Regions from separate parts of the Homo sapiens genome. Here all the other regions are linked to region 1. Evidence: promoter capture Hi-C in human tissues and cell types (Jung and others, 2019). All regions are on one chromosome and are shown on one strand. Each heading gives the region's core, a stretch centred on a gene start or on the middle of the fragment in contact. The rest is flanking DNA. Distances are from core to core; before and after follow the strand shown. Region 1 holds the start of FOXG1 (forkhead box G1). Region 2 overlaps PRKD1 (protein kinase D1). Region 3 overlaps PRKD1 (protein kinase D1). Region 4 overlaps PRKD1 (protein kinase D1). Region 5 overlaps PRKD1 (protein kinase D1). Region 6 has its middle 350 kb from the start of LINC02326. Region 7 holds the start of LOC102724934 (a long non-coding RNA gene).

Region 1 (4,195 bases), core at 1,696-4,195:
CGGATTTGAATAAAATGTCCAATGTTAACAAACAATACCCACGTTTGGCACTTTGTGTATTAAATTGATCAAACAGATTTTAGGAGGCACAATGCACAATTTGTACAGACCTGATTGAGTTAATATAATATCAGCAAATTTTACATCGAAATGATTCTGTTTCTTTTCTTTGTGTTTAAAACCAGCACAGATTACAAATTTTAATGATCTGAAAATGTTTGGTATACAAAATCATGCTTATTTCAGTATTAGCAAAAACACAAGAAATTTTTCAACACAAACACCCAGCTGTGTCTATTTTAAAAGCAGTTCAATGACAGCTTGCACTTATGAGCATGCAATCAGCTAATTTCGTTTTTTTTTTCTTCTGTGTTAATCAACACTTTCCTTCCTGCATATCAGAGTACAAATAGTATAGTTACTCCACATCAGTAAATGTTTACGTAACCTGTCCTTTCCCAAGAATCCGGTTACACCGAATCATTTCACGCTAGACCGACTACGAAAACGTACCGGGCCGTCCACCTCAGAGGGAGCCCTGTGTGCCATTATAAGTGGTGGTGAGAAGGGGGGCTGTAAGAGGAGAAATTGGGAGGAGTAGGTGGAGGAATGGAGAGACAGAGGAATGGAGGGTGGGGGGAAGGGGCGGGGGGAGCTAAGGGAGAAGGAGGGAGGAGGGAGGAAGGAGAGTTGAGGAAAAGTAGGAAGAACGGGCCTGAAGAGGGGAGAAGAGTGGGAGGAGGAAAAGTGAGTAGGAAGGGGAAGGCCCACAAATCTCTCCAGCCGGTAGGCAAAGCCCATTAGCTCACCCGGCCCTGCGAGAAATCCAGAGCTTGGAAATAAATGTTTGGGACCATGTCACTATCAACACTGATTGTTGGAACCCTTGAATTTTTCCACATGTAAATACAGTTTGTTTTAAAGTGAGAAGATATGTAGACATAGGTAAAGATACATACATACAGTGGAAGGACATTTGAGGTTAGTCCAATATTCAAAGCTCCTTTGTGGCATTCCTAATAGATGCATATTTAAAATTCACTAGCTATTTGTAATTATCTATTATTCTCTCCAGTTTCCTCCCCCCCCCCCAACCTTTTCTCTCTTTCTCTTTCTTAAGACTGGGGGTGGGGAGGATGGAATAACCCCCTATTATCCTGAGTATTCATCAACCGCATTCTTTATGTTACAATTTAACTTTAGGATCAAGCATAAGCACCAATTTTCCTTCCTTCGTTTTCTTAAATACCAAATCTGCCAGATATCTTAATGAAAGTTTATCCAAGTGAAGAAATGCTTACATTTTATAATTATTTACCTTCTAGAGGAAGGAAAAGGTGCCTTTCATTTATGCTTCTCCACCTCCCTCTTCTCTGGGGCTACATCCTCCGTAAAATGTGGTATGTTTCGTGCCCATGTGGGATGAAACAGCCTTTGATCAATGTGCTCCCCACTAAATTCCAATCCCTGGGAAATGCTGGGCCTTAGCCCTGCCCCTGGCCACGGGATCCTTTTAAAGCCCCCGATTCGCAATTTCCCCATTCACTTCAACCTCCAACCGAACCTTCCCAGTTCCAAAGCCCAAGAAGCTGGGACTGTGAGATCCACGTTCCCAAGGCTCCCCGGTGCTTTCCAGCAGCACTCAGGGTTGGCAAGAGCTGGCTTCAGTATACTGTTATTTCAGGAATGAGGCCCGCACAAAATAAAAGCATTTGAGAAACGGAAAGGAAAAAAAAGGAGTGAAAATAGGAAGGCTTAAAAAAAAAACCGGAAAGAAATAGACGCCCACCCTTATTTTCCCTCCAATGTCAACAAGCAAAACGAAAATATTTCCAGGGTGATCGCTCGCAGCTACCCGCTTCCAATTCGGATTAGAAGCTGAGGCTGGAGCGGCGAGGAGAAAACGACATCGAGTCACCCCGCGCGTGAGCGACGCTCTGGAGCAGGAGAGAAGGAAAAGGAAGAGACACACGTATATAGCATGTGTTACCTGATTTATTTCGAGATTGTTTGGTACTGTTTTCTCTCTGGGCACCTCTCATTTCGGAAGGCCATCAGAGGCGCCCACTACTGAGCGGCCCCGGCCGCCGCAGCAGCACCCGGAGCCCCAGTCCCGGTTTCCCCGCGGTGCCGGAGCCCGGAGCTCGCCGCCGCCCAGGCCTCAGGAATCGAGTAAGTAACCCCTGTTTGGCCCCGCGCTCCTCTGCCCACTTCCTCCTCCTCATCTCATCGCTCCCAAAGCTCTCCCACACCCTCCTCCCCCGAAGTAAAGGACACCCCCGCACACACGCCAGCGGTGGGCCTTATCTCCCCCCTTATCCAAAGCTGCGCTAGACTATTACCTACAAAGGGCACAATTTTCCTGCTGGCTCAGAAATGCCAGACACTGGCCTGCAAGGCCGACTCGGAAAAGTAGTGCCTCGCCTCTACCTCCTCCATTTCCTGCCCTCTCGCATCCTCTCCCTGCACTCCCACTCTTCCCACTACCACCACCACCCCCGCTTTCAAAAATAAAATTGGATACAAACTTTAATCACTAAGGACAAATATTGACGCTTAAACGAAAATGACCCAGTACAATGAGGAGGAAGCCGGAAATGTGAGCTATTGGCCCTAGGAGGGGAATTTCGGTGGAGCGGAGCCGGCGGGGTGGAGGGGGTGGCGGGGGCGCAGGGAAGGGCTGCGGCACCGCGTGCTCCCGCCGGCGTATCCCTACGCGGCTCCGCGCGGCCTCGGGGTCCGAGGCCCGCGGAGAGGGGGAGGCGAGCGCCCGAGGGGGCGGCAGCCGGCGGGCGGGGCGGGGGTGGGTGGGCCCGGCCCCTCCGATTGGTCGACGGCGAGAGAGACGCTCCCGCACGCCGCCAGCTCTGATTGGCCCAGCGGTAGGAAAGGTTAAACCAAAAATTTTTTTACAGCCCTAGTGTGCGCCTGTAGCTCGGAAAATTAATTGTGGCTATAGCCGCCTCGATCGCTGTCTCCCCAGCCTCGCCGCGGCCGCTCCGGGACGCGCCCGCCCGCCGCCCGGCTCTCCCCCCCTTTGGGCTGCTGCTGCTGCTGCTGTGACTGCTGCTGCGAGAGGAGGAGGAGGAGGAGGAAGCAGCGGGGGGGGGAGCGGGGGGTGGGGGGGGAGACCAAGAAGTACAGTTGGGAGCGAGGGAGCTTCACCCCCGGGGCGGTGGTTGTTTCTTTTTTCTTTCTTTCTTTTTTCTTTTCCTTTTTTTTTTTTTTTCTAATTCCTGAGGGGTGGTTGCTGCTTTTGCTACATGACTTGCCAGCGCCCGAGCCTGCGGTCCAACTGCGCTGCTGCCGGAGCGCTCAGTGCCGCCGCTGCCGCCCGCGCCCCCCGCGCCCCGTTCGGCACCCACCGGTCGCCGCCGCCCGCCGCGCCGCTGTCCCGCTCCCGCGCCGCCGCCGCCGTTTCCCCCCGACGACTGGGTGATGCTGGACATGGGAGATAGGAAAGAGGTGAAAATGATCCCCAAGTCCTCGTTCAGCATCAACAGCCTGGTGCCCGAGGCGGTCCAGAACGACAACCACCACGCGAGCCACGGCCACCACAACAGCCACCACCCCCAGCACCACCACCACCACCACCACCATCACCACCACCCGCCGCCGCCCGCCCCGCAACCGCCGCCGCCGCCGCAGCAGCAGCAGCCGCCGCCGCCGCCGCCCCCGGCACCGCAGCCCCCCCAGACGCGGGGCGCCCCGGCCGCCGACGACGACAAGGGCCCCCAGCAGCTGCTGCTCCCGCCGCCGCCACCGCCACCACCGGCCGCCGCCCTGGACGGGGCTAAAGCGGACGGGCTGGGCGGCAAGGGCGAGCCGGGCGGCGGGCCGGGGGAGCTGGCGCCCGTCGGGCCGGACGAGAAGGAGAAGGGCGCCGGCGCCGGGGGGGAGGAGAAGAAGGGGGCGGGCGAGGGCGGCAAGGACGGGGAGGGGGGCAAGGAGGGCGAGAAGAAGAACGGCAAGTACGAGAAGCCGCCGTTCAGCTACAACGCGCTCATCATGATGGCCATCCGGCAGAGCCCCGAGAAGCGGCTCACGCTCAACGGCATCTACGAGTTCATCATGAAGAACTTCCCTTACTACCGCGAGAACAAGCAGGGCTGGCAGAACTCCATCCGCCACAATCTGTCCCTCAACAAGTGCTTCGTGAAGGTGCCGCGCCACTACGACGACCCGGGCAAGGGCA
Region 2 (4,195 bases), core at 1,178-3,677, 950 kb after region 1:
GCAATCCACCATGGCACATGTATACCTATGTAACAAACCTGCATGTTCTGCACATGTACCCCAGAACATAAAGTATAATTTAAAAAGTAAATAAATAATAAAATAAATAAATATGCTACCAAAATTTACAAGTGTGTTATTCATAACATCATTCAATATGTCACATTGAAGGTCATTTTAGTAAAAGTATTTCTGCAGGATGTGCATGTGTGTAAACAGTGTGATCCAAGTTTATACCCTCTTTGGAGTAAAATTTGATTTATCTAGTTGCTCTGTCCAATAGAACTTTTTTCAGATAGTGAAAATGTTCTATATCAATATGGCAGCCATTAGCCACATGTCTCTATTGAACACTTGAAATGTGGCTATTGTGACTTAGGGATTGCATTTTAATTTATTTTAATTAATGTACATAGTCGCATATGGTTAAAAGCTACCACAATGAACTGTGCAGACCTAGATAAATGGTTGCACTGCATATCTCTCAGCCAATTCTCATCAATGGAATTTCATGCTTTTGTAACAAATAGACAAAATAAAAACCCAAACATTGTTATTCTCTAGTTTAAGCCTCAAGCACAAGAAATTTGTGCTGTCCAATTCAGCAGAAAACCAAAGGTTTTTTCAAACATTCTAACTAAAAACAAATCCTATCACCTCTTTATTAAAGTGAGCCAAAATAATCCCTCTTTGAAAGATACTGTAATTGCCTAAAACATTTTTCATAGTATTGTCAGATTCTATAACTCATCCATTTCATTATATCCTATGTGTCAAGCTTTCATTTTTGACATGGATTGTGATATTTTTGAAAATAAACCCCAAATAATCCAGAGTCAAATTTAGTAAATAAGCCACATGCGTTTTAGAAGCCAATTTATATAAAAAGGCAAAAATAACAAGCTAATGCCTTACTATATTTTTTAGAATGATTCTTAATATCCAAGTCCTGTTGTGCCATCAAGGCCCTAACATGGCACTTACATAAATTAGACCAGACCGTTAAACTTCCATTCTAAGAAGCAAATATAAGGAATTTTTAGCTTCACAGTAACCAGAGCATAGAGACAAAAGTCCCCTTTGTGTGGTTTTCATTGCCCTCGTGTTCTTTTCCTGTTTTCATGGGTGACAGTTATAATACTGTCTTCAATTAGCACAGTAATAGATGAAAAGAGAAGAGAAGCAGAAACAGTAATTTCTGGCTGAAAATCCACTTGCCAGATGTTGAGGAACTAGGCCTTAGGCTAATTCTGTGTGAAGAGAGAAGCTTGATATGTCCTTCCATGAAAACCACGGTATGTATTGCTGACAGAGATCTATGGAGATTTAGAATCCAGTTCTGGAGCACATGACTCAACTTTTTCTGTAGGTCTTGCCAGCTGACCCTTAGGCAGGGACAGCTGTTCTGCTAAATGGATAAAACTACAGAGGAGGAGGGGAAGAAGGAACAGCAGGAGAGGTCAGCCAGACCTCAGGATATCAATCCTCTTTCCTTCCAGACTCTGAAATAGAAAGGCCAGAGCCCAAGGCCATCTCCAGGGCCACCTCTTAGGAGCTGTAACGAAGATATGAAACACAGAGGCTCCAGAAAGAAAAAGACAATGAATAAATTGACGAAGTCAAATGAGATGAGTATTGGGGGGTACATCAAAAAGGAGTAACTACTGAATACATCTCAGAAAGAAAGCAAGAATATTTAGGAAGAAAAGAGCAATGGTTGGGAAAACTGATTCACTGAAGAGTGAATTTAGTACAATAGCAAATGGGGTTATTTGGTCATGGTGATGAACACAATCCAGGAATCATAGAAATTAGGAAAACAATTGGTATTCCATGAATTAAGTATAATTTTGCTTGAGAAATACTGTGAAAGAAACTGCAATGTTTAAAAACAGGACTTTTAAAAATAAATAAGCAATTTTCTAAAAGACATTTTTGACAATATTTAGGAGATAACAAGAGTCCAGAAAAAGAAGAATTAATCAGATGATAATATTAATTTTACTAATAGATTATGTCAAGAAGAACTAATAAAATTCAATTCCTATACAACAACATTAACTTTTGGATATCATACATAGGACATCAATTTAATTATTCATGTATTTGCTGGCTTGTACATTTCATTGATTTAAGGATTCATTCTTTCACTCAATAAATAGATATTGATTGCATGTGATATACCAGATCCTAAAGTTTCAAATATTAAAATAAATCGTTCCTATTTCAAGAAATGTGTAGTGCAGTGGGGTGGAGGTGGGGTAAGAGGATTGAGTACTTTACATTTGGCAACCATCTTGTGAAATGCTTTATATTTATTCTCATGAATTCTACAGCCCAACCATATATTGGAGATACTGTTAATGTTATTTTACAGCAGATGGATCAAGATTCAGGGAAATGGGGTGACTTGCTGAACATTATATAAGAAATAAATGACAACTCTGGGACTGAAACCAAAGTATTGACTGAAAATCAACTACTTATGAAATTGAAGCTATGTGGAGATATAACATAAATATGATGCATATTTCTGAGTTAATATATGTGAAGCACTTGGAACAGTGCATAACATATCATAAATATATTACCATCACTATTGTTATGTTACCATCACTATTGTTATATTAACATCACTATTGTTATTATTATTTCTAAAAGAACAATATGTGGCAAGAAATATTATTTATTTAAAAGTATACAGCATGAAGAATATAATGCAGCAGAATGGAAAATGTGCATAAAATTTTCATATGAAATAAGAGGCTTCAAGACTTTTCACTTCCGGGTTTGTCTTATTCCCCAGTTGACCTGGACAGAATTTCTTCCCTCTGCCTTGATATTTAGGGGTGCTTGAGGAAAAATAGATGGAGAAACAATGCACTATTGTGTCATTGCTTCTCCATCTCCTCCCTGGAGAATCCATTTTATCAGGAGATAAATAACCAAGAAAACTATCAAAGTGAGGAAGAAGTGCACCAAGCACAATATCCCTACTGAAGTCACAAGTAGGGAAAAGTGGGAGTCTATGGTAACATTCCAATCTGCTTGCTGTCTGCATTCTCTTCTCTGAGAAAATGGTTTAGTGTGGCACAAAGAAATTAAAACCAGGTTGATATGGTTAGGCTTCGTGTCCCCACCCGAATCTTATCTTGAATTGTAATCCCCACGTGTCGAGGCAGGGAAGTGGTTAAATTATGGAGGTGGTTTCCCCCATGCTGTTCTCGTGATAGTGAGTGAATTCTCACAAGATCTGATGGTTTTATAGATGGTAGTTTTCCCTGAGCTCTCACAGGCACTTCTGCTACTGCCATGTGAAGAAGGTCCTTGCTTCCCCTTCACCTTCTGCCATGATTGCAAGTCTCCTGAGCCCTCCCAACCATGTGGAACTGTGAGTCAATTAAGCATCTTTTCTTTATAAATTACCCAGTCTCATGTAGTATCTTTATAGCAGTGTGAAAATGGACTAATACACAGGTTTACTTGAAAGATAAGAATGGAAAGAGAATATTAACAATCACAAAAAGGAAATGCTGAAGACACATTTAACATAAGCCATACTTGGGAGAAAAGAGAAATGACGTGTATTTTCACATTTAGATTTTCCACTGTTACAAAACCACCTGCAAAGAAAATTGCAACTGAAGTTAGAGAAGATTTGGCTCCATTCAGCCTGTGACACTTAGATGTCCAAGTACAAACACAAGGAAATATAAATTGAGCATTGAAGGCCAGGTCTTATAAAACCTTAGTTGCCCAAGTAGTAGTAGGGCTGAGAAGGTGTTGCCCACAATTAATTCTGCCTTCTTAAAAGCAAACAAACAAAAACTATATCTATGCAATATACTTTTGAGGAAATAATACAGTGATTTACTATATCACTCTTGGGGTTTTTATCTTCTGCCTAAATTTCACAGAAGATAAAATATTGCTACATTGCTAACCAATGTATTATATCTAAGACAAATTAATATAATATTATATCTAAGAGAAATTAATATATAAAGTCAGTAATTTGCACTTTCTATAAAAGAAAAAAGAAGCTTAATAAAATGTTGTTACCATATTTTTTTTCCTGGTTTATGATTTAGGCATTGAATCGTAGTAGGAGTAAAACATGCTTATAAGGATTTCTTAAATATAGTGACCCTAAGACACTATTTCCATTTTGATCAGAATTGTGAACTTATGATGG
Region 3 (4,195 bases), core at 727-3,226, 930 kb after region 1:
AAGAAGCTGGTTGGGCCCAAGATATCACATCTACAGGTCCTATCTGGCCCATGCACCGACAGTTTGTAACCACATGTCAAAACATAGTAAAAAAAAAACAAACAAACAAACACCACCACCACCAACAACAAAAATGTACCTATATTTAAATCCATTCCTACTCTGACAATGTAATTTAAATTCATGGTGTCATGAACTAATATATACAGTTTTATCTTTTGAAAACTATTCTTCTTATACCATGTTCCAAGGCAGATGACCTCTTATACTCAGAGAGCAAATAACAGCATTAGCACAACTCCTAACGTTTCTATAGCATAAATGAATACATGTACACAAGATTAAACATTTAATTAAAAGCTAAAATTTCATCCGAATTACCATTTTCTAAAATCAGTGTGGTATGCATCATGTATGCAGATTTGCTTTTACTAACATTTTAAATTCCACAAAGTAGTTTCAGGACAGTCACTGCTTAGCAGTATGTTAACCCATTGCAAACATCTATTTTATTAAAATCTATGTGCAAAATCACTTTTTGGGAAAGGCAATAATGTTGTAATATAAAATGTCGTTTCATGAATTGGACTAAGAAAATTTTAGAAGATCACACTTTAGTTCCTTTTCATTTTTTTTTTGACATGATTGTGCTTGAATTTCTCCAGCAATTTCAGCAAATGTATTTTTAACTTTAACAAACAGTAAGCTTTAATGTATTCCTGTTTGACATAATGAAATTGTATAACTCCCACGACTTTCTGCTTTTTTGATATTATATAAGAACCCTGTAATTTTATATGCCAGAGAAGACAGAGCACCTGAGAATAAATGCTATTCAAACTTGTAGAGCAGTATCTGAAGATGCACTATGCATTTCTAAAGTAACTTGAGGTCAAAATTCACAAGAAAACAAGAGATGTTCAAATAAACTTTACTGAAGTGTGTTTTTCTGATTACATCTTATCTTTCAAATTTTCCCAAACACTGTTATCAGTATTCACATGGAATCTGTCAATGCATAGATATTTACAGCACTAACCTGTTGTCTCCCCATTTCAAAGAGTTGGGTATTTGAAATTAAGTTTTGGAAAAACTGAAAAATGACATTTGAAACATAAACAAATGTTTATAATCACTATTATCTGGATAATCACATATGATATACAACTTTTTAAATTACTAAAATTAAGCAAACTATGGATGGTTCTTCAGGATGTCATTTTTTAATGAAGAGAGCAAAGTAACAAGTATAACAGTATTATTTATAAGGAAAGCTTTTTCTTTTTTACAGTTTTGAAATTTCACAAAGCAAGCTTTATCAAGCTTGACAAGAGAGAAAAGATATATTAAAAATGACTTCTTAAGGAAAAATCCTAGACGGTAGATACAGATTGGCCTTCTAACTTAATTTCTGCTTTCCAGTTTGTCATATAAGTTTAAATAGTACATAAAAACCTAACTTTTCCAATTCCTTTTTAGCTCTCTAATAATGAAACTCTAAAACTCTCGAAATTGGGAAAGGGCTGGCCTTCCTTCCTCTATAGAACGTCATCCTACACCTTCATCTGCTTGCATTTAAAGCCATTTGATAATGTAAGTGCCTCCTGGACACAGCTCCATGCAATGTGTGACAGAGCTGCTTGCTGGTTTGTGAGTCTTGACAACTGACTTAATCGTGGTCTCTTTTCCCTAAAATTAAGGGCAAAAATCAATAGCATCCAGGATCCTATTTAAAATTACATCACAATGTTCAGCCTGCACTAACCTCATGAAGTAAAAGAAACTGTGTTGGGGATGAAGTAAAGAATGCCTTTTCCTGTTAGATGCTAAAGTGCAAAAACAGATTCGCGTGGTTAAGTATAGCCTTTGACAAGGTGCGATCCACCGAATACAGTCTGCTTACTTTTTTACACTTAATGCCATGAATATTGCCATGTCAATCACTACAGATTTCCTTCAGCCTTCCTTCTATTATATAGTATTTAATGGCAATGACATATCAAAATTTGGTTACCAATGGGTACTTACCATAGCGGATTTCTAATTTGTTGCTAATATCCTTATAAGAAGTATTTCTACATGTGAAAGTATTTCTAAAGAGTAAAAATGAATTGCTTGGTCAATGACTTTTTGTTTTACAATTTTTGAAAAGTACTATCAAGTTGCCTAACAAAAGAGCTTTACCAATTTACCTTCCAACCAACAGTTTGTGAGGCTGCATATTTCCCTGTACCCTCATCAGTACTGTATCCAATACTGGGCTTTTAATTTTTGACTGTCTGCTAGGTGAAAGATTAATTTGCACTTTGTAGATTACAGATGAGGTTGGCCATTTTTTTTCAATTGCGTATTCATCTTCCATTTGTATTCACATATTTTTAGTTCTTCTGTAAACTGTCCAGACCTTTGCAAATTTTTCCTTTGATTAATTTACTTGTTTTTATTTCTGAATGAGGCTCCATGTGTATCTTAATTGTTAATCCTTTGCCTTTTATGGCAAAGTTTTCTCCAATTCTTATGCTAAAGCTTTATATTTAAGGTATTTTTAATTGTTTAGGAGTTTAAATATTTGAGTAGGTTTGAATAGGGCAATGATTTCCCTTAATATTTTAGAGTTTTGACTTTGTTTCTTAGTTCTTAACTGCTTAGAATTTATTTTCTAAATAGATATCCAATTGTTCCAACCCCACCTATGGTATAACACATTCTTTGTTTTACTGATTCAAAGTGACACTGCATTTTTATACACAAATATATCTCTTTCTGGAGGCTACAGATCTGTCTTTAAGGCAAAACCACATTGTTTTAATTATTAGCTGTGTAGTACATTTTGATATCTGGAAGAGTAAGTGCTCCTTTATCATTCTTCTTTTGGAATGTATTCTTTTTGGTATTTTAAAGTTTTATTTAAAAGATTTTAAAACCAAAAGAAAGAAAGGTATAGTAAGCTCCCATTTCCCACACTAGGTTCAAAAATTATCAAGATTTTCCTATATTTGCTTAGCTTATCCCTTCTTTTTTTTTTTCCCTTGCTGAAGTATTTTAAAGCAAATTCCAGATATTTTGTCATTATACCCCTACAAATTTTAGGGTACATTTCTTTAAAAAAACCAGACATTCGCATACATAATTAAAAATGCAATAATCATATTAATTGAAACTAACAATTTCAATTATCAATATCACCTAATTTCTACTCCATAAACAAATGTCCCCCAATAGTTTTAAAACTTGTTTTTATAATTGATTTGTTTGAATAAGAGCTGAATGAATTCAATATATCACATTTGGTTATTATGTCTCTTAAATCTCTTTTGATCTAGAGAAGTCCACCTCCTTTTTCTTCATTTTTAAAATGCTGCTGACACGTAGAAGAAGCCTAATCACTTCTGCTCCTTGTTTTTTCATTTAACTTCTTCCTATTTTTTCTGTATTTCATGTAAAAGAAAGTTACCTCTGGAGGACTAATTAAATTCAGGTTCAACTTTTTGGGCAAGAATGCTTTATGTTTGTGTGACGGTTAATCTTATGTGCCTTCTTGGCTAGATTATGCTCCAGATATCTGGTCAAACATTATTCTAGATATTTCTGTGAAGGTATTTCTTGATGAGATTCCGGTAGACTTTGAGTAAAGCAGTTTACCCTCCATAATATGGGAGGACCTCGTCCAATCAGTTGAAGGCATTAACAGAAAAAAGACTGACCTCCCCTGAAGAAGAGGGAATTCTGTCAGCAGACTTGGGACTCCAGCTGCAAGATCAATTCTTCCCTGGGTCTCTGCTACCCTATCCTACAGATTTTGGACTTGTCAGCCTCCACAATCACATGTACCAATTCCCCTCGCTCTCTCGCTGTCTCCCTCCCCTTCCTCCCAAGGCATTTGTGTGTACGCGTGCGCATGCGCGCGCGCGCGCACACACACACACACACACCCTGTTGTGTGTGGGAACTCTGGGAATCCTACTTAATAGAGTTCAGAACTGTGTACTTCATTTTGCATAACATCTTGAGGCCCACAATGTCTACTTTAGTACTGATTGATAAGTAGATTCAGGTGGTTATATCTGATCTTTTCATTTTGAACTTCCTTACCAAAGTTTTATCTAAAACTGAGGCTCTTGAAGTATGATTCTCAGACTAGCAGCATCAGCATCACCTGGAAATTTGTTAGAAATGTATGTTCTTGGCCACACCC
Region 4 (4,195 bases), core at 1,139-3,638, 910 kb after region 1:
TTAATTATATATAACATAGGATTGTCTATATATTTCTTTACAATTATTGTGGGTTCTTGACACTTTATCATCTTTGGTGCACTGTCAGGGAAATCAGCAAGAATGACTACAAATTGTCCATGAGGCAGGGAACTGAGAGATGACAACAGATCAATTTCACACTATTGTGGCCCAGGTGTGTGAGTGTTTGTAAAACTAAGCTTGCACATGTCCATTCTCCCTCCCCATCACCCAATACACATATACCTAACCCCCAAGGTTGGTCATTTTTTCCTGCTTCTCTGTTGATCCCAGTCTCTCCAAGCCAGTTTTAGATCAGATTCTCCCTTCATGCAACCGTTGTTCAAGTTAATCTCACATTTCACATTTTTGTTATACCTGGAAACATCTAGAGTTGTGAGGACCCACAGCTCTCCAACAACAAGAACATTCAATAAATTCTTGCAGAGGGACTTGCAATAACATCTTTCAGATGGGTGCTGAAAATGAAGGGAATCTCCATTTTTGACTTAACATCTGACCAGAAAATTGTTAGTGAGGTGCAATGATGGGAATTTGGGAGGCTGTGAATATATCATCTCAGAGATCATAGTAGCCAAGAGAGAAAAAAAAATGTATTTAGATAGGTTGACTAGGCAGCTCAGAAGTTTCTGGGAAGTTATTTCCTAAGTTTGTGGTTAGAGATTAAAAAAAATATGGCTACAAGAGAAAAAGGTCTCACAAGCCAGACTGAGAACACAATAGCAAGTTGCCCTAATTAGGAAGAAAAGGGACTGGTAACTAGATAAATGTTGTGACTGCCCAGGGAACTGTCTGATGAGCTCATGTTCAGAAAAGTAAAGAATCAACAGCAGAAGGACCAGCACAGAGTCAGGTTGAATGCAAGTAAGTGGCTCCGGCCAGAGAACCACCCTAGGAAGGCCAAAAGAAGGAAAAGCTGAAGCTTTTTAAAAGCTAAAAGAGAACAGAAGGCTTTTCAGCTGGGTGTTTCATGTGGAAAGAATGAAGCAGAGATAGGCCTCAAACTCAGAAATAAATAGTTTAATGCTAACAGACAAAATAGAAAAAGCTATTCAATTATATTTTTGTTTTTATCTTTTCTAGAAAAATAGACCATCTTTAAACTAAAAGAAAAAAAATAGGAAGAAGTAACATATCAAGAAGAAAACAAAGTCTAGGATGGATGAGAAAGGGGCTTTAAAGAAATTATTTTCAATAGGCCCAAATGAATTATAGATGAGTACTTAAAAGCTTATTTTTAACTTTAAGAAAACATCTATCTCAATATCCTAACAGAATGTTGTTTGCTTAATGAAATTATTCTAAAGCCCTTTTGTAAGAAGAACAGAACATATTCTAATAAGAATAGAAAAAAGTAACAGAAGAGTAATAAATAAATTTTGCCCTACTTGATATCAAAATATTCTATAAAATGTTGATATTTTAAAATATGGGTGGCTGTGAAAGATAAAAGAGAGAGATAAGCAGGCTAGAATTAGTGACCCAGAAATCTACCCTATGTATATATTTAAAATATTGTAAGTCTTAACAGAAATCAATGTCAAAGGTGGAGATATCATTTAACAATTGGCCGGCGTGGTGGCTCATGCCTGTAATCCCAGCACTTTGGGAGGCCAAGGCAGGCAGATCACGAGGTCAGGAGATCCAGACCATCCTGGCTAACACAGTGAAACCCTGTCTCCACTAAAAATACAAAAATTGGCCGGGCGTGGTGGTGGGTGCCTGTAGTCCCAGCTATTTGGGAGGCTGAGGCAGGAGAATGGCGTGAACTTGGGAGGCAGAGCTTGCAGTGAGCCGAGATCGTGCCACTGCACTCCAGCCTGGGTGACAGAGCGAGACTCTGTCTCAAAAAAAAAATAAAATAAAATAAAATAAAATAAAATAATTAACAATTAGTAACGATTAGCAACATAGGGGAAAATACTACTTGAAACAATATTTCCTCTCTTATACTAAAATAATTACCTGCTGAGCAAAAAGTTAAATAAAAACACAAAATCATAGAAAAACTAGAAGAGAACAGAGTGAATCCTTATTAAATCTCTGGTGACAAGATGACTTAGAAACAAGAGGTCATAAATCTGCAGTGATGGAAGAAATCAAATGAAAAAGACTCATTAGCATGACCATGTAGGCACTACTGGTTGACTTGCCAAGGAATCATATAATAGTCTCTTTAATTCAGCATAGTTACAGTAGATTTATTTATAATAATTATATATTCTAGGTCACAGAAATCTAATTATGCTTAATAACTCCAGGTATATAGAACAGAATTACTAACATTCAAGGAGAGATTCCCCAGGCAGTTTTAGATTCCAGACAAGCAGGTAACCAGGCCTATGTTCTATTATGAAAATTAAGAAAGTTAACATGTATTTACTCCTTCTCAGAAAAAAAAAAAGAAATTCTCCTCTTCATTTTTTTAAACCAGAAGGATGCACCGGGACAGTAGGAGTGTTTGATAGCAGGGCTAAAGCCTTGCTCAAGAAATAGCTTAGGATCTGTTCATGAACCCACAGAGCTACAGTTAACACGTGAAGGATCCTTTATTTCTTTTCCAGGCAGCTGAGCTCTATGGCTGCTGCAAAACATCTGCTTTAGAAGCAGCAACGCCTCCTGCCAGGAAGATGTTGCTTGAACAAAATAGATACAAACTATGCACAATTATTATCTGTCCATTAAAAGAAATAAATTTATTTTTAAAAGCTTTATAAAAAATAAAGGTATGTTTACAAAATGGAGCCTTTATGTAGTAAAGGACGAGAGAGCTAGAAAATGGGATTATTTTATGCCATCTACCTCCATACTTAGTTGGCCAAGGATACTCTCCTCAACATACTTTTTCTCCAGCCATTTCTAAGAATGCGTCACCGTCTTTCACGTCAATCCCTCCTTCTGTTTTGCATACATACTTCTCAGGCAGCCAGGTTCCACCTGATCCACACCTCAGCTCAGTGTCGCCTATTCTGGGATATGCCTACCCCCACCTGCAAAAGACTGCCCTCTTCTCTTTTCCATAGCGTCCTGGACACTTCTGTCATAAAATGTATCACTGAATATTGCCACCCCTTAATTGTTTATCTGTTCACACATAACATTACACACTGCAAGACCACAACTTCTCTAACTGTGCAGGCACATATTAAAGTGATTAATTCTCGTAGTTAAACATGTTGCTTCCCTGCAGTTCTAAGGCTCTACATTTTATTGAAGTCCTAATAATCTGTAAATAAAGTATTTCAAGTTCAAAAGTAAATTCCATCAGAATAATATCTTGGATCACAGTTTACAAAGTGTCTAGCAGTGCTTTCCAGAGATGTTTTTGCTAGTACCTTTCTATTCTAAGCGCAATATAGTGTCAGTAGTGATAAAATGCATGGACTGAGTGCCAGGGAAGACCTGGACTCTGATCCTGGTCACAGCAAATGCATGACCTGGGGGAAGTTACTTCACCTCTCTGAACCTCAGTGTCCCTTTCTATAAAATGGGCTTCGTGTGATGCATCTCACTGGATTATGAGGAAGACACAAAGTAACTAGTATAGTCCTTGGCATACCGGTGGGAGCTGTCACAAAAAGTTTTTAGCACAAGGATGAAGTGTATGGGCTTTGTGGTCAGAAAGACCTGGGTTAGAATCACAGTTATTATTAATAATAATAATTATTGTCACAACCATCATTACTAATGGAGAGGAATGCTGTTTCTAAGTCTGTTGCCAATTCAGGGCCCTTAAAAACTAAGGGCTATAAAAACTAGTATTATTTGTCTCTTCTACTACCTTATAAAGCCTATGTTTCCACTCCAGAGGAAATTGCTTTCCTATCTACTGTTCTGGTTAACACTAATTAAATGGAGCTGGGTCCATAGGGCTGTGTCTAGTTCCTTCCCTAAAATGAATCAATTAACAGTTGGGAATTGCAGTGGGGAAAGAAGGGTCACCATATCCTGATGTGACTGAATGACAAATGCCACAGCTGGAAAGAGATTAGAGAGCATCTCAGGTCAAGAAAGAATATAAATGGTTGCCCCATGTGTCCAACGTAGAAGAAAAAGAAAATTAAGTAAAAATGTCATGGAGTCAAATTCTAGCTAATGAGTGCAAGCACTGCAGGCACCCTGAATAGAGGGAAAGAAAGGTCAAATCTATTTTTCTTAGAAAGCTCCATCGTGT
Region 5 (4,195 bases), core at 1,110-3,609, 840 kb after region 1:
TTTGTTATTTCCCAATTTGGGCTTTGAATGTGGTTAGATATACAAATTTTTAAAAATACATGTTCAATGAAAGCATCAGACTCAAGGCTAAGTATACACAACTGATAAAAAGAAGTCTTAGAAGTTTAAATTCATTTCACTTGGCCCTTGCTCTTTTATGAGCATATTTACACTTTACAGTTTTCCCAAAGTACATATTGAATGACAGCTGAAAAATCTTCTCAGTAGCGAAGTGATTTTGCTTTATCTGAATAGTTGATATACAACAAGTTTATTTTAACATTTATTGTATATGGTTGAGACAAGGCCATCATAGATACTTACTTAGGAACTGTATTTTTTCTTGCATTGAAACAAATGGCCAAACTTGTTTTTATATTTGATAGTAACAAAAGAAAACAAAACAGACTACATAGATCATGCCTTATTTAGTCAAACTTCTTATACTGCACTGATAAGAATATGCCGTTAGCCTAGAGAATATATTAGAAGACTGGAAATAAGAAAAAAGTTCCAGCTATTATTTCTCCATTTTCATGTGTAATTATTATTTTTTAATACCTTAAGTACAATTTTAAAATAAGTTCAACCAAGGTGGTCCATGTGACTTTTCATGAACAGTTTTAATTTTTCATATAAAATATGAAATAGCCTTTAAACCATTTCCTCCTAATGTCCAAAGTAACAGAATTATTAATAATTTTAAAATGGCAAGAAGACTGCAACATCAATCATGGCATAGTAGTGTGCAAAAAGAGTTTTGCCCAACTTCTCAGGCTTTCCACAGAAATGCAGATAAATTTCATGGCAGAGCAAGCTACTACAGGACTCTCTGGCCATCTGTCTGTTGCATTTAAGCAATTTAATTTTCAGGAAATGAAACATTTGGCCAAGTACAGGAAAAAATAGTGTCCATTCACACATAACAGATTGATGACATATTCACGGGGTGAATATAAGTTGTTTCGATGCCTGGGAGGAAATATCGTTTGTAGATCAAGACAAAAACTCTCCTGACCCAAGTTGCCTAGAAAATGTGTATATAATCAATGGAAATTAGTCACTAGAATCAAAAGCTTTTATAAAAGTAATATCTCAAGAAAATAAAGAATTGACTAATTCTAATTTTTTTGTTTTTACGTAATTCTCATTTACATTTTTTGATTTGTGTTAAAGGATATTCTTTAATATTGGTATCTAAGTACTAATATTCTTTAAGTCTAACATTGTTGCTTTATTGTAAATCTAGAGTTTATAATTTATTCCATATATGTAGTTTCCACCTTCTACCTTTAGGATTATTCTACTCAAACATATGAGAGGTAGGAAAGAGGAGAATTAGATTCAACCTATCTTTGCAATAGGTCTTTAGGAGCAGTGCAGTCTTAATATGGGGACCTCTGACTAATTTTCTGTCAAAGAACAAACTGATTTAGTTCATAATGAGATAGAAAAACTAAATATAAAAGTGATGAGCCTAGGATCTAAATTCTAAATGGTATGCAGATCAGAAGGAAGAATATTCCATCACACAATGGAATGGGTGGGGGGCATGAGGTACAGTACTGCAGCAGTGGCCTTGTCGACTCTCATTCCTGCCAGTTTGCCAGGGTCAAGAGAAGAGCACACCTTCTTATCCATTTTCTAATTACTGTCTCTTATAATTTATGCTTCATGTCAAGGTCTTAGAAATCACAATCCTTAAACGCCTTATTAAAGGGAAACAGACTATACTTACCTGATAGAGAATAAAAAGTCATCTTGCAGAGAACAGACAATTATAAAAGTATTTGTTAAAGATAATACCCAAATTGATATGATAAGATCTCCTAAATTCCACAATCTTATATTCAATTGTCTTTGGGGTATGTTCATTTAAATGGAAGAGGTCCAACAATGACATCAGCGTCTCTCCACCCAAACTTATTCTTCTAGTATTTCTTCGCTTGGCAAATGGCGAATCACCTAGGTCAGAAACCTTGAGCTCATCCTAAATGCTAACTTCTCTTTCACTTCCAACAACCCACTGGTCTCTAAAAGTAATAGAGCCCACCTCCTTCATCTCTCACACTGACCCCTTACCTTCATCCTCACCTCTGCTGCCTTGGTTCGAGCCCTCATCTCTTTTACAGGGATCCACCACAGCATCCCAACTGATCTGGCCTTAGGTCTTCTTCTCCAATCCATTCTTCAAAAGGCTGCCACTGTGATCTTCCCAAAGGTGATTCTGATGCTACCATCTTGCTTCAAGCCCACAAATGAATCACCACCAACTTCTGGATAAGGTGCCTACCCTTAGCAAGGCATACAAAACCCTTCAAAATCAGCTCCTTTTTCTCTCTCTGCTTAAGTATTTCTCCAGCTTTGTCTCTTCACCCAAATATCCACCCTTTTTGCCACCCTAAAACCATTTTTATAACAAGCCACACTCTCTCCTTTCTATGTTTTCATACATACTACCCTTCAGCCTGACCACGAACGTTTATCGGGTGTGAATATTCAGCTGTCAGGTAACTTTTATTGACTCTCCCAGTCTGTCTTGGATGTCTCTCTACTCTCAGAGTCTTTGCTATAATCCCCTTTCATAACACTTATCCTACCATATTTGGTTGTTGGTGAACCTATTTGTCTTATTTACAAGGCTACAAGCTCCATAAGAGCTATAATTTATCATTTTGTATTCCCAGTCAATATAAGTCTAGTGCCTGATACATACTAAATATTCAACACATTTGCTAAATTTGATTGAAAGATGAAGAGTCTCTACGTCTCCTTACTTTTCATTAAGTGAATAATATTCTTTAAGATCTCCATGGCTTTTAGATATGCTAGTACGTGTTCGACATATTTAGTGATAGTACATTTTGCATCAAGTACGATATATAGTGATAGCCTCTCTTCAGAAAAAAATACAGCACATGGCTTTTTAATTGAGTTCTCTTAAATCTGTTAGTCGGAAATTTCAGGAGTCTGATGACAAATATGATCATAAGTAATGACTTTTTTTTTCTTTTCCTTTTTTTTGGAGACAGATTCTCACTCTCTTGCCCAGGCTGGACTGCAGTGGTGCAGTCTCAGTTCACTACAGCCTCCCCCTCTCGGGTTCAAGAGATTATTCTGCCTCAGTCTCCCAAGTAGCTGGGATTACAGGTGCCCGCCACCATGCCTGGCTAATTTTTGTATTTTTCGTGGAAACGGGGTTTCACCATGTTAGCCAGGCTGGTCACAAACTCCTGACCTCAAGTGATTTGCTGGTCTCGGCCTCCCAAAGTGCTGGGATTACAGGCATGAGCCACCACACCTGGCCAATAATGACTTTTTTGATAAATACTAATAATATGGATGTGATTCTCAGAGATGCCACTACTGATGAGTTGCAATGATTTCTCTAGGACCAAGGATATGATAAAGACAGTCTCTTTCACTTTTTAGGTACAACCCCCTCAAAATCTACCAATTTTGATCAGTGTTTTTGTAAAGATTTCAACATCTTTGATAGGAAGAAACATGATTTTCCTATGCTCTAGGAGACTTGTATTTATTTAATATCTAGCTCTTAATAAGGAGATACTTTAGATTCAGATCATTCTCAAAAGCCACCAGGAAACAGTTATCAGCAAGAGATAAGCAAAGTAGCAGCACAGTCAGGATATTCCCTTCCCTCCATGCCAACCCTCATTTACATTGTGAAAACCTTACTATGATTCCATCATTGTCCTGAGGATGAGAATAAAGAATTGAAAATGGGCTATTCAGATGATAATGACCACTGTACCTCTTTTACTTCTTACTTAGAAAAGGTCTTTCAACTCCTCTTATTTTTTTATTTAACCCAGAACAGGTTTGACTACAAGGAAAGCCTGGAAACCTGGAGCTTAATTTCAGGAGCAAGTTCTCTGAAGACAGATGTCCTGAGTTTGAATTCCAGCTCTGCCTCTTCCCAGCTTCTGCCTTCAGGTGAGTTATCTAAACTCTCTGAGGTGCTTCCAAATCTTATGTAAAATAGGATGATAGTAATGTGTCAACTCATAACACAGTCAGGTCTCATTATTTAATGGAACAAAATACTTGGAATTGTGCCTGGCACATAGTATGGGTTAATTATTACTACTGGGTAAATTTTATGGCATTTAAAAATGATTTGGGCCCAATGTCCCCCTTTAGTTTGATAACTGAAAGTTTACAGTAGTAAGCC
Region 6 (4,195 bases), core at 864-3,363, 650 kb after region 1:
GTTGTTTTTGATTTCCCCTTAAATAAGATTCTAGGTCTGATTATCAGGATAAAATCTTAATGAGTTCTCTTATGGGCTTGTCTCACTTGATTGTCAAATACACACTTGTCACAACTCTGCTGTTGTGAGGAAACAGAAGTGACATCAGAATGTTGTGTGGCACGTGGAGAAAGGATAGGATTTAAAACAAAATTACTTTGAGGGCACTTCAGAGCACTATCCCTAGAAGCTAGGGACATGGGACAAAGAACATAGGCAGAGTGTTAGTCTGTAGCAACCAAGGCAGTAAGCTTCTGTGTGTATAGAACTTCATTCTGCCTTCCTACCTGTCTCCATCCCAGGCTCAGAAAGAAACTTAAACCACTGTGTGGATCAATAACGGTGATCCAGAATGAAGACTAGTCCCCAAGATTAGCATATGGGAAAAAAAGACCTTACTCATTTAGAACTTTTGAGCTAAATTTTCACCAAAATATTCTAAGAAATAAAAATAGAGAAAAGAGTAACTGGTGGAAATACATGGAGAGAAAGTAAAAGAATACATAAAGCAAGATGTTGGTACAAATTAAAATATGGTAGCAAGAAGAAGTGTAAGATTAACACAGACAGATATTTGTGCTTTGTAAACTGTAATACACTAAATAAATGTGAGTTATTTAAAAATAGTATATGTCAATTTTCCTTCTAATGATTATTTTCATTATATGTCTGATAGTACATGTCTCCTTGCTATTCCTGTTGGTTGAATAAAATCAAATTTTAAAGTGGGGTTACATCATCTCAGATAATTAAATCCAAAGTTTCCTAATATAAAGTGTATCCAGAAAACATAAAAATTTTAAAATATTCTCTGAACATCTAGGCCTATTGTTAAAAATAGATCTGTGGAAGCTTGAATACAAAATTTAAATTCCTGAATTTGAGATTGAAAAGTGACTCCTTAAAGAGATCATCACATTTTCACCACTTAATAGGTGTGTGACATTGGGAAAGCACTTTCTCTGACCTAACTTTTTGTATCCATAAAATAGAGATAATATTTTCCTGTACTTTTTATGGATGTTATAAAGCTAAATGAATGAACACATATAAGGCAGGTAGAACAGTGCCTGACACAGGTCTCAATAACTGGTACTGATTGTATTCTATGGAAGATTCTCATTGCAAAACAATCACCTCTCAATCATCTGCTCAAATAATGAAGAAACTGCATTGTTAATACTATTAAGAATATTTTATATAACTATTAAATAGGTTTCTGTGTTAACAGTTATACCTAAAACGTGAGTGTGAGACTCTGAAACTCCATTACAAACTGAAAATAAAACCACACTGGGAAATCTGGTTCAGCAGAATTTGACATTTTCCCCGACTTCTCTCATGCCCCAAACCATTTCCCTTTCAAACTCATGTAAAACTTAATCAGTTGCATGTGAAATTAGATTCTTCTTCTAAATATGGTTCTTTAAACTTCACTGGGGTGGAGAAATCATTTAAATAATTTGATTTGCCCTGCATTCCCCCTCTAGATTCAGCTGTTTTTAAAATCTATTTTACACACTGTCAATAAGAACTGGAAAGCATGATGCCTTCCTGATTTATTGAATGAGGATCCTTGAATCATCTGTCTATGCACAGAACTTCAACTCAGTGAGCAGATATGCTCTTTTTAACAAAACCAAAACATGTTTTCAGCGCAGTCCCTGCTTTACAGAAGCCACAACTTTATTCCTTCCAGCACTATTTCTACACCCCTATGGTTAAGGTCTGTCACGTTATGTTATAATTGTCTCTTTACTTCCGTGCCTCCTCTATTAGACTATAGGTTCTATGAAAGTTTTATTCATTTCTCATTCACATTGCTAAATATTTCCTTTATATGACATTAGTAAATTTTCTATATATATAAATATATATATAAATGAATACATGACCACTTTACACATAATTAAAGTGAGAGATGAAATGTATTTGAGAATAAAATTCATATTCCTGATTCTTAAAACTGCCAAAGATTTTGGATTATCCTCAGAGACTTGAGGAGGAAGGACTTTTACAATAATTTTACAAAATACATGAAGAAATTTCTTACAAAATATTTTTATATGCTTGGAACCAAGGGTTAATATAAAACACATATAATGCTAGCATTCACTAGAGGCTCACTTCTCTGTAGCTGCCACGTGCCTAGCCTACATCTCTTAAAATCAAATCCATCCATTTTCTAAGTTTCCTTTTTTTTTTCCTATGGCTAAGATTACAATCTATCATTTAGAGAGAATGTGACACCTAGATAAAAGCAAGTATATAAAAAGGAATCGAAACTGATGCAGAAGGAAAAAAGTACAAATAGGCTGCAGTTCTGTTAGTTAAAATGACATGGTTGGGAGCTGAGAAGATGGCACAGAAAAAAAAAGAAAAACTTTTTAGGTCATTTTTATCAAGTGACTTGTATTGTAGGAATGTGAAAACATGTCAAAAATAATCACATTTTCCAGGTTCATTGTTCTAAAATCCTTCCTCCTTCCTCTCTGATATTTGATATATTTGTTAAAATACTCATGCTTTAGTTTGAAATCAGTTTTACATTTGTTTTAAAGATAATAATATCCAAGCACCTACTACTATGTGAAATGTTTAATCACAAACCAGTCAGTCTTTGTATTGTCCTCAAGTCACAATTATCATGTACCTTTAGTACATAGAGTACATATTGCTTTACACAGATATACCAAGCAAAAGCATACTTATATGGCAATTGACAAACTAATCTCAAAGTGGTCCCCACTACTGAATGCTGAACGTTTCTCATCTTCTTTCATATGTGTGATGAAATAAAGCGCAAGAGAATCAGGAGATGCGAGTTATCATCCTGGTTCTGTCACTGGCATCATCAAGTCCCCTTCTCTGGACCAGTTTTCTCATCTGAAAAATAAAAGAACTTGGACTACCTGCTTTTTAATGTCCTTTTCTTCATACTTATATAATTCTTCCTGTTAAGGTCTTATTTTAAAAACAAGAAATGAAAAGCCTACATCTATGATAAATTCCTTAATGGATATTTTGGAATTTTTTATTAGTTGCAGTTATTTCTGCAATTATTATAGCAAATAAAGTAGAATAAGAAGCCTCTTAATATTAATAATGTGTCCAACTATGTTAAATAAAAAATCACTGGGCTAACCTTATTGTACCATTTGTGAGGGGGAAAAAAATAGTACAGTTTGGTTTTCCCTGTACTGGAGCTTGTCCTTCTCTTTTGAAGAGAGATGTTTCTTAACTCTCAGCAGCATACGTGCTTGTATAACTTAACAGATGACAAGGGCAGTTCCCCCGCAATTCTGTGCATTTTTAGCAGTGCAAAATTTTAGTTGGTGGTAATTCTAGGTATGAGAGGTGTTATTTTGTCTTTAGGATACCTTAACAATAAAAAGAAAGAATGAACCAAAAGTCAGGCATGCTTTCAACTAAACCATTAATGTGTGCTGTTGGCTAGAATTGTACTCAACCCGGGGAAACTTTATTTACTAATTCCTTAGCATTTGCTTTTATTGCCTTCATGTTTCTAATAATATATTTATTGATGTGTGCCTCATATATTTGGGGGACTTCTTAAAAGAAGTTTTTGTATCAATGTGTAAGCTGGCCATTTAAAACTGAGATGGTTATGATTTTCATGCAATTTTAAAATCATAACTATGAACCATAATTGCAAAATACAAGACAGTATATGCTGCAAAAATACAAATGCATTTAGTAGCTCAAAAGGAATAAAAGTTTCAAACCATACAACAGATGAAAAATATATTGTAAAGAAGGAAGGAAGAAAGAAAGAGAAAGAGGGAGACATGGGGGGAGGGAGGAAGGGGAGAAAGGAAAGGAAGGAGGGAAAGAGGAAGGCATCATATCTTAGGCATATGCTAGGCACTGAATAAATGTCAGTTAATCTTTCTCTGCTAGTTTGAAATATATGAAATTAGGGATATTATTTTTATCTGCAAAAATCCCCACAATTTTCATATGGTTCAACTTAGCATATTCAAAATTATTTTTTCAAGATTTGTCTTTGTTAACAGACTAGTGGTGAAAGAGTCAAGTGCAAGGCAATGTCCTCTGGAATAGACAATGCTGACAAGTCAGGCTTTCTTAGATGGCCAGTTCTGTCCTCTTCAGTCCACCAACCAGGTAGGGCATC
Region 7 (4,195 bases), core at 560-3,059, 630 kb after region 1:
ACTTTTCTGCCTAATTGCCATCACTGCCACGTACATTAGGCCCTTTTTCAGCAGGGTTAAAACAGGGCCAGTGATGAATGGAAAACTGATTGTACTGCTGTCAAACTTGAATGTGAGGCTTATTCTAGAGATAGAAGTATGAGGAAAAGGACAGAGAATTGCACTTCATTAAAGCTCTACCAAGCTGATTGGAGTGGAGGAGGTAATTGAGATTTAAAGTGGCATTCCCATCACACTGTCCCTTTTTCAACTTAACAACTGTCATTCAAGCCACATAGGGCAACAATTGGCCAGATTTCCCAGCTCTTCTGAGTAATAAAACAGACACTCACCTTCTGGCTATTCGTTTTACTTACTTTGTTCTAATTTCCAATTCATGTGTCATTAGTGAACGAAGATTGACAAGAAATAGCTTTGACCTCACAGATTTGACCTTCAACCCCAAAGACCCAACTCTAGTCTGAACATAGGTTGGAATATGCTAAGAAACACCTTTCCTTTGCACAAGAATGAATGGCAGTTTTTTCATCATTGTACCACCCCCTGCTTGCCACTACATTTAGACTATGAGACATGTCAACTGCCTGTCACAATTACAATAGACACAGCAAACCAGAATTTTCCCCAAATCCAAGGGGAACTTCGCGAACAAAGAGTAAATTTTATTGCACAGATTTTGGAGACCTCCAATTTGTAGAGCCATAATGAATGCATCCCACAGACAAATAGGTAGTTGTTAATTATCCCAGCAATTTCTTTTTTTAATGTGCTAACAACACAGCACGCTAAGCCTTCATATCCTACTCTGTTACCTGATGATCTCATCACATTTGCAACGATGGTAGTCTGGGAAGAAGGCATTATTTTAGCAAGTATGCATGACAATAAGTTACATGATTATAATCCCTTATTTTCATGATTTAATAAAAAGAAAGTGTGATATTTTGGAAACAAATGGGTTTAGCTACACCTTTACTAAATCAGTTGAAGTAGTTTACCTATAGAATCACTTTATGATAAACGTAATCTTTGTATTTTCCTTGACTGAGTATCCTAAAGCTTAGATATACCAATTTTGTGTCATCAAAACATGCTGTGGATAAAAAATGTTGAAGGGCAAGACCTATGACCTGAATAAGAACCCTCAATGAATTTAAAAGTATTTTATGCCTTTCACACAGTTTTGAATAGCAATTGGGTCCTGGAAATCTATTATGGCAAGGAAATTGTTACGGTTTTTTTTACATTAAGTGACAAACATTTGGATGATTCTTGTGTTACATCCCCCTCGCCCCCTAAACAGAATAATGAAATACATCACTTTATCATGTCAAGTGTTCAAAAACTTGACTCCATTTCCTTCATGATAAAACATTGGGAAACACTATCAGGTTGCTGCTTTGACTTTATTTTAATGAATTGTGAAGTCATTTTCATTTTACCTGTAAAATTCATTCTTCTGCAGGTATTTTTTCCTTTTCAATCATGGATTTACTTACTTTAATGGTTGTCACAGTTATTTGTTTTTCCCTTGCAATATTCTTCTCTTATAACATGGATTCACATAACTCATTGTGCTTCACTGTATTTTCTGAATTTCTTGCTTGTGTTACTTAAAAAGGAGTATACAATATATTTTCTTACAGCAGGAGGCATTAACTTTCATGAGAAATCACAATTGTTACCACATCATCCGTAAGTACTCACAAAGCTACCACTTTCAGAAAATTTAAATAAAAGTCAAAGAACTGATTTTTTTAAATGATGATTAGCATATAAATCAAAAGAATAATTTCAGAACAGGACAAACTTCCAGGGTATGACATGGTAAGAGTTTACTAAGAATTATAAAAATGCAGGGATAAATGGAATATTCTTTATTAGATCTGTATCACAATTATGTTTGAAACACGTTTTCAGGGTAATGACAATAACACATTTGCCATCATTTTGCCTCGATGCATGTACCTTCTCTGTTACATAGCGCTCTTCCAGCCAAACAATAAAGAAAGCTCTTTGCATTTAGAATTTTGCTTTCTTGTGAGTAAATTTTTATGTCCTTATAGCTCAGAGAAGGTCACAACTTACGGTTTTATCCCAACAGCACATTAGTGATAATCAAAAGAAATAAATCTCTAACTGTTGGTAGCTTCTACAGAAATGTCTTTTATCCTACACCTGTGACAATTGCCCTGTGTTAGTGAAGCCAACAAGAGTCAGGACACAGGTCAAGGGTCAGGGCACTGTCAAGGGGAAGTTATTCTTCAGTCTACTAAATCTTATCATTTTCATCTAATGTGATATCCTCCTATCAGTCAGAGAACGTAGGCTATTGTCTTGTCTAAGTGCTGCACTTTCCTCCTCAAAGACAGTACATTTTATTACTTTTTTATAATTACCATTTTTTATCTTCAAAATTTTATCTTCCAAATAAACACACTGAACTGATAAGCCATCTCCAAGACTTAATATTTTTATACTAAAATCACAACAAGAAGTGATACTAAAAACAGGGTTCAGGTATTAGTGTTGTTTGATTGATTTGATTGATAGATTAGTTTGATTGATTTAATGGTTATATTATGAATGACTTAAAAAAAGAGTTAACTAAACAAATAATGAAATGAGTAGCAGTGGATAAATAATGAATGGCAGAATAGCTTGACAACTTTATGTGTGCCTAAGTGAGTTTATTCCTACATGATGGCACGCTCACCCTAGATATTATGGGCTAGCACATCCTGCTAGCAAGTAGGTTACTAAGATATAATAAAACATGTTCTGAAAAATATTTTCATAATGGACTTCAGTTAAGTATACACAGTTGAGTCTGCTTTTGCTATACTTGTATATAATAAAATTCGAATTCTAATGCAGTATAGTGAAAGACTCGGTTACCTCAGTGTAATGCAGTATGCAAATTGCAATTCCCCTTGTCATGAGATTTGACTCACAAGAAAAATTTGTGTTAGCGTCTTCCAAAAAAAAAAAAAACAAAAAAAAAACGATATCTCAAAGCTTTAAAAAGCAGGTTACAAGTGGCTAAGTTGGGCCATTTAGATCTTCTCTCTCATTGGGAGGAAAATAAATCACAAATAAGTTTCACGCTATCCTTTGTATCCACAGAAAAGTAAACCAAATCTCTAGCATTTCATATCTTTTCCTTCTGGCAATTCCCGTAAGGATAACATAGTGGAATGAACAGTTATAGACGGGAACTCAAGGAGCCATATGCTTTAGCCTCAAATCTGCTATTAGCCTGCTGAGTAGCATGAGCCTCAGTTTCCCCAGCTGTCAAATGGGAGTGAGAGTGTTATTCTCAACTCTATGGATTTTTAAAGACTTAACAGTATCTTTGCCCATCATGTTTAAGAGATAGAAACCTTTCTTTTGTGCTCCTTACAAAGAGTTTTATCTTAGTTCCTAATAAAAGCATATATGTTTCACCTACATGGTCTTAATCTTGGGGACAGGAATTTATCTTCTTCATTTTTTTACCTAATTACTTAGCAAAGTGTCTGTTGAATTAATAAATGGAGAAATAATTCTTATGGTAACTATATATCCTGCTTTATGCCTATTTTGACTTTATGCCTTTATGCCTGTTTAATTACTAATAGGCTTCATTCACTTTCAAACATATCCCAGTTTGGATGCCAAATTATACGGTATTCATCATTTCCTTAATGGAAGAAGAAACTACTTATATCACCAATTTATTTGAGATCACTTAATGTCCCTCAGATTTCTCTTTTCTTTACAAAATAACTCTAATTTGTCTACCTTTATCACCTGTTTGTTTTAAAGTTTAGAGATTAATTTAGTGACCAACTGAAGCATATATTTGGGCTTCTACACTTATTGCTATCCAATATTTAAATCACTGTGCTTCAAAGACAATTTCGAGTTCCTTACAAATTTAAGGTTATAGAGTTCTAATAAACAGTCCTATTTTTAAATGGATCCCCCAGACTGCATCTAAAGGTCTCACATTTTAATAAGTATTATCTTAGGTAATCAACCATCCATGTTATTTGTCATAGTTATACACAAAACTATCTATTAATGTGTCTCCTGAAAAAAATAACCTTCTACAAGCAAGCAGAAATAAACAATATGTTTCAATAGATCTTGTCTTAGAAAATATTAATTCCGTAAACAGGAGGACACACTTGCAAGGGCAAGGATGGAATAA

What was found. Contacts are between HindIII fragments. The study calls those that stand out against the background at their distance.
Region 2: a contact is called between a fragment that was not itself captured here and the fragment with the promoter of FOXG1 in region 1, in 2 of the 25 tissues and cell types used here (dorsolateral prefrontal cortex and liver).
Region 3: a fragment that was not itself captured here is called in contact with the fragment with the promoter of FOXG1 in region 1 in 1 of the 25 tissues and cell types used here (hippocampus).
Region 4: a fragment that was not itself captured here is called in contact with the fragment with the promoter of FOXG1 in region 1 in 4 of the 25 tissues and cell types used here (bladder, liver, lymphoblastoid cells and 1 more).
Region 5: a contact is called between a fragment that was not itself captured here and the fragment with the promoter of FOXG1 in region 1, in 4 of the 25 tissues and cell types used here (IMR-90 fibroblasts, lymphoblastoid cells, mesendoderm cells and 1 more).
Region 6: a contact is called between a fragment that was not itself captured here and the fragment with the promoter of FOXG1 in region 1, in 2 of the 25 tissues and cell types used here (dorsolateral prefrontal cortex and mesenchymal stem cells).
Region 7: a contact is called between a fragment that was not itself captured here and the fragment with the promoter of FOXG1 in region 1, in 6 of the 25 tissues and cell types used here (bladder, dorsolateral prefrontal cortex, hippocampus and 3 more).

The regions. Positions count from the first base shown.
Region 1 is chr14:28,763,842-28,768,036 of GRCh38, forward strand. It overlaps FOXG1 (forkhead box G1), which reads left to right and starts at 2,946. Exons shown (of 1, transcript NM_005249.5): 1 at 2,946-4,195. The coding sequence starts at 3,439. It overlaps FOXG1-AS1 (FOXG1 antisense RNA 1), which reads right to left and starts at 1,478. Exons shown (of 7, transcript NR_125758.1): 1 at 1,319-1,478. RefSeq lists an enhancer at 2,077-2,601. The HindIII fragment of the contact is 7,501 bases long and covers 2,395-4,195 here.
Region 2 is chr14:29,715,030-29,719,224 of GRCh38, forward strand. The region is part of intron 2 of PRKD1 (protein kinase D1); the gene reads right to left. Among named protein-coding and RNA genes, the nearest start is that of PRKD1, 210 kb to the right of the region's middle. The HindIII fragment of the contact is 4,614 bases long and covers 121-4,195 here.
Region 3 is chr14:29,697,076-29,701,270 of GRCh38, forward strand. All of the region lies in intron 2 of PRKD1 (protein kinase D1), which reads right to left. Among named protein-coding and RNA genes, the nearest start is that of PRKD1, 230 kb to the right of the region's middle. The HindIII fragment of the contact is 4,665 bases long and covers 1-4,195 here.
Region 4 is chr14:29,670,473-29,674,667 of GRCh38, forward strand. All of the region lies in intron 2 of PRKD1 (protein kinase D1), which reads right to left. Among named protein-coding and RNA genes, the nearest start is that of PRKD1, 260 kb to the right of the region's middle. The HindIII fragment of the contact is 5,612 bases long and covers 1-4,195 here.
Region 5 is chr14:29,603,006-29,607,200 of GRCh38, forward strand. All of the region lies in intron 13 of PRKD1 (protein kinase D1), which reads right to left. Among named protein-coding and RNA genes, the nearest start is that of PRKD1, 320 kb to the right of the region's middle. The HindIII fragment of the contact is 8,723 bases long and covers 1-4,195 here.
Region 6 is chr14:29,417,458-29,421,652 of GRCh38, forward strand. No RefSeq gene overlaps it. Among named protein-coding and RNA genes, the nearest start is that of LINC02326, 350 kb to the left of the region's middle. The HindIII fragment of the contact is 3,046 bases long and covers 591-3,636 here.
Region 7 is chr14:29,391,935-29,396,129 of GRCh38, forward strand. It overlaps LOC102724934 (a long non-coding RNA gene), which reads right to left and starts at 109. Exons shown (of 7, transcript XR_001750707.2): 1 at 1-109. RefSeq lists an enhancer at 1-1,208. The HindIII fragment of the contact is 4,226 bases long and covers 1-3,922 here.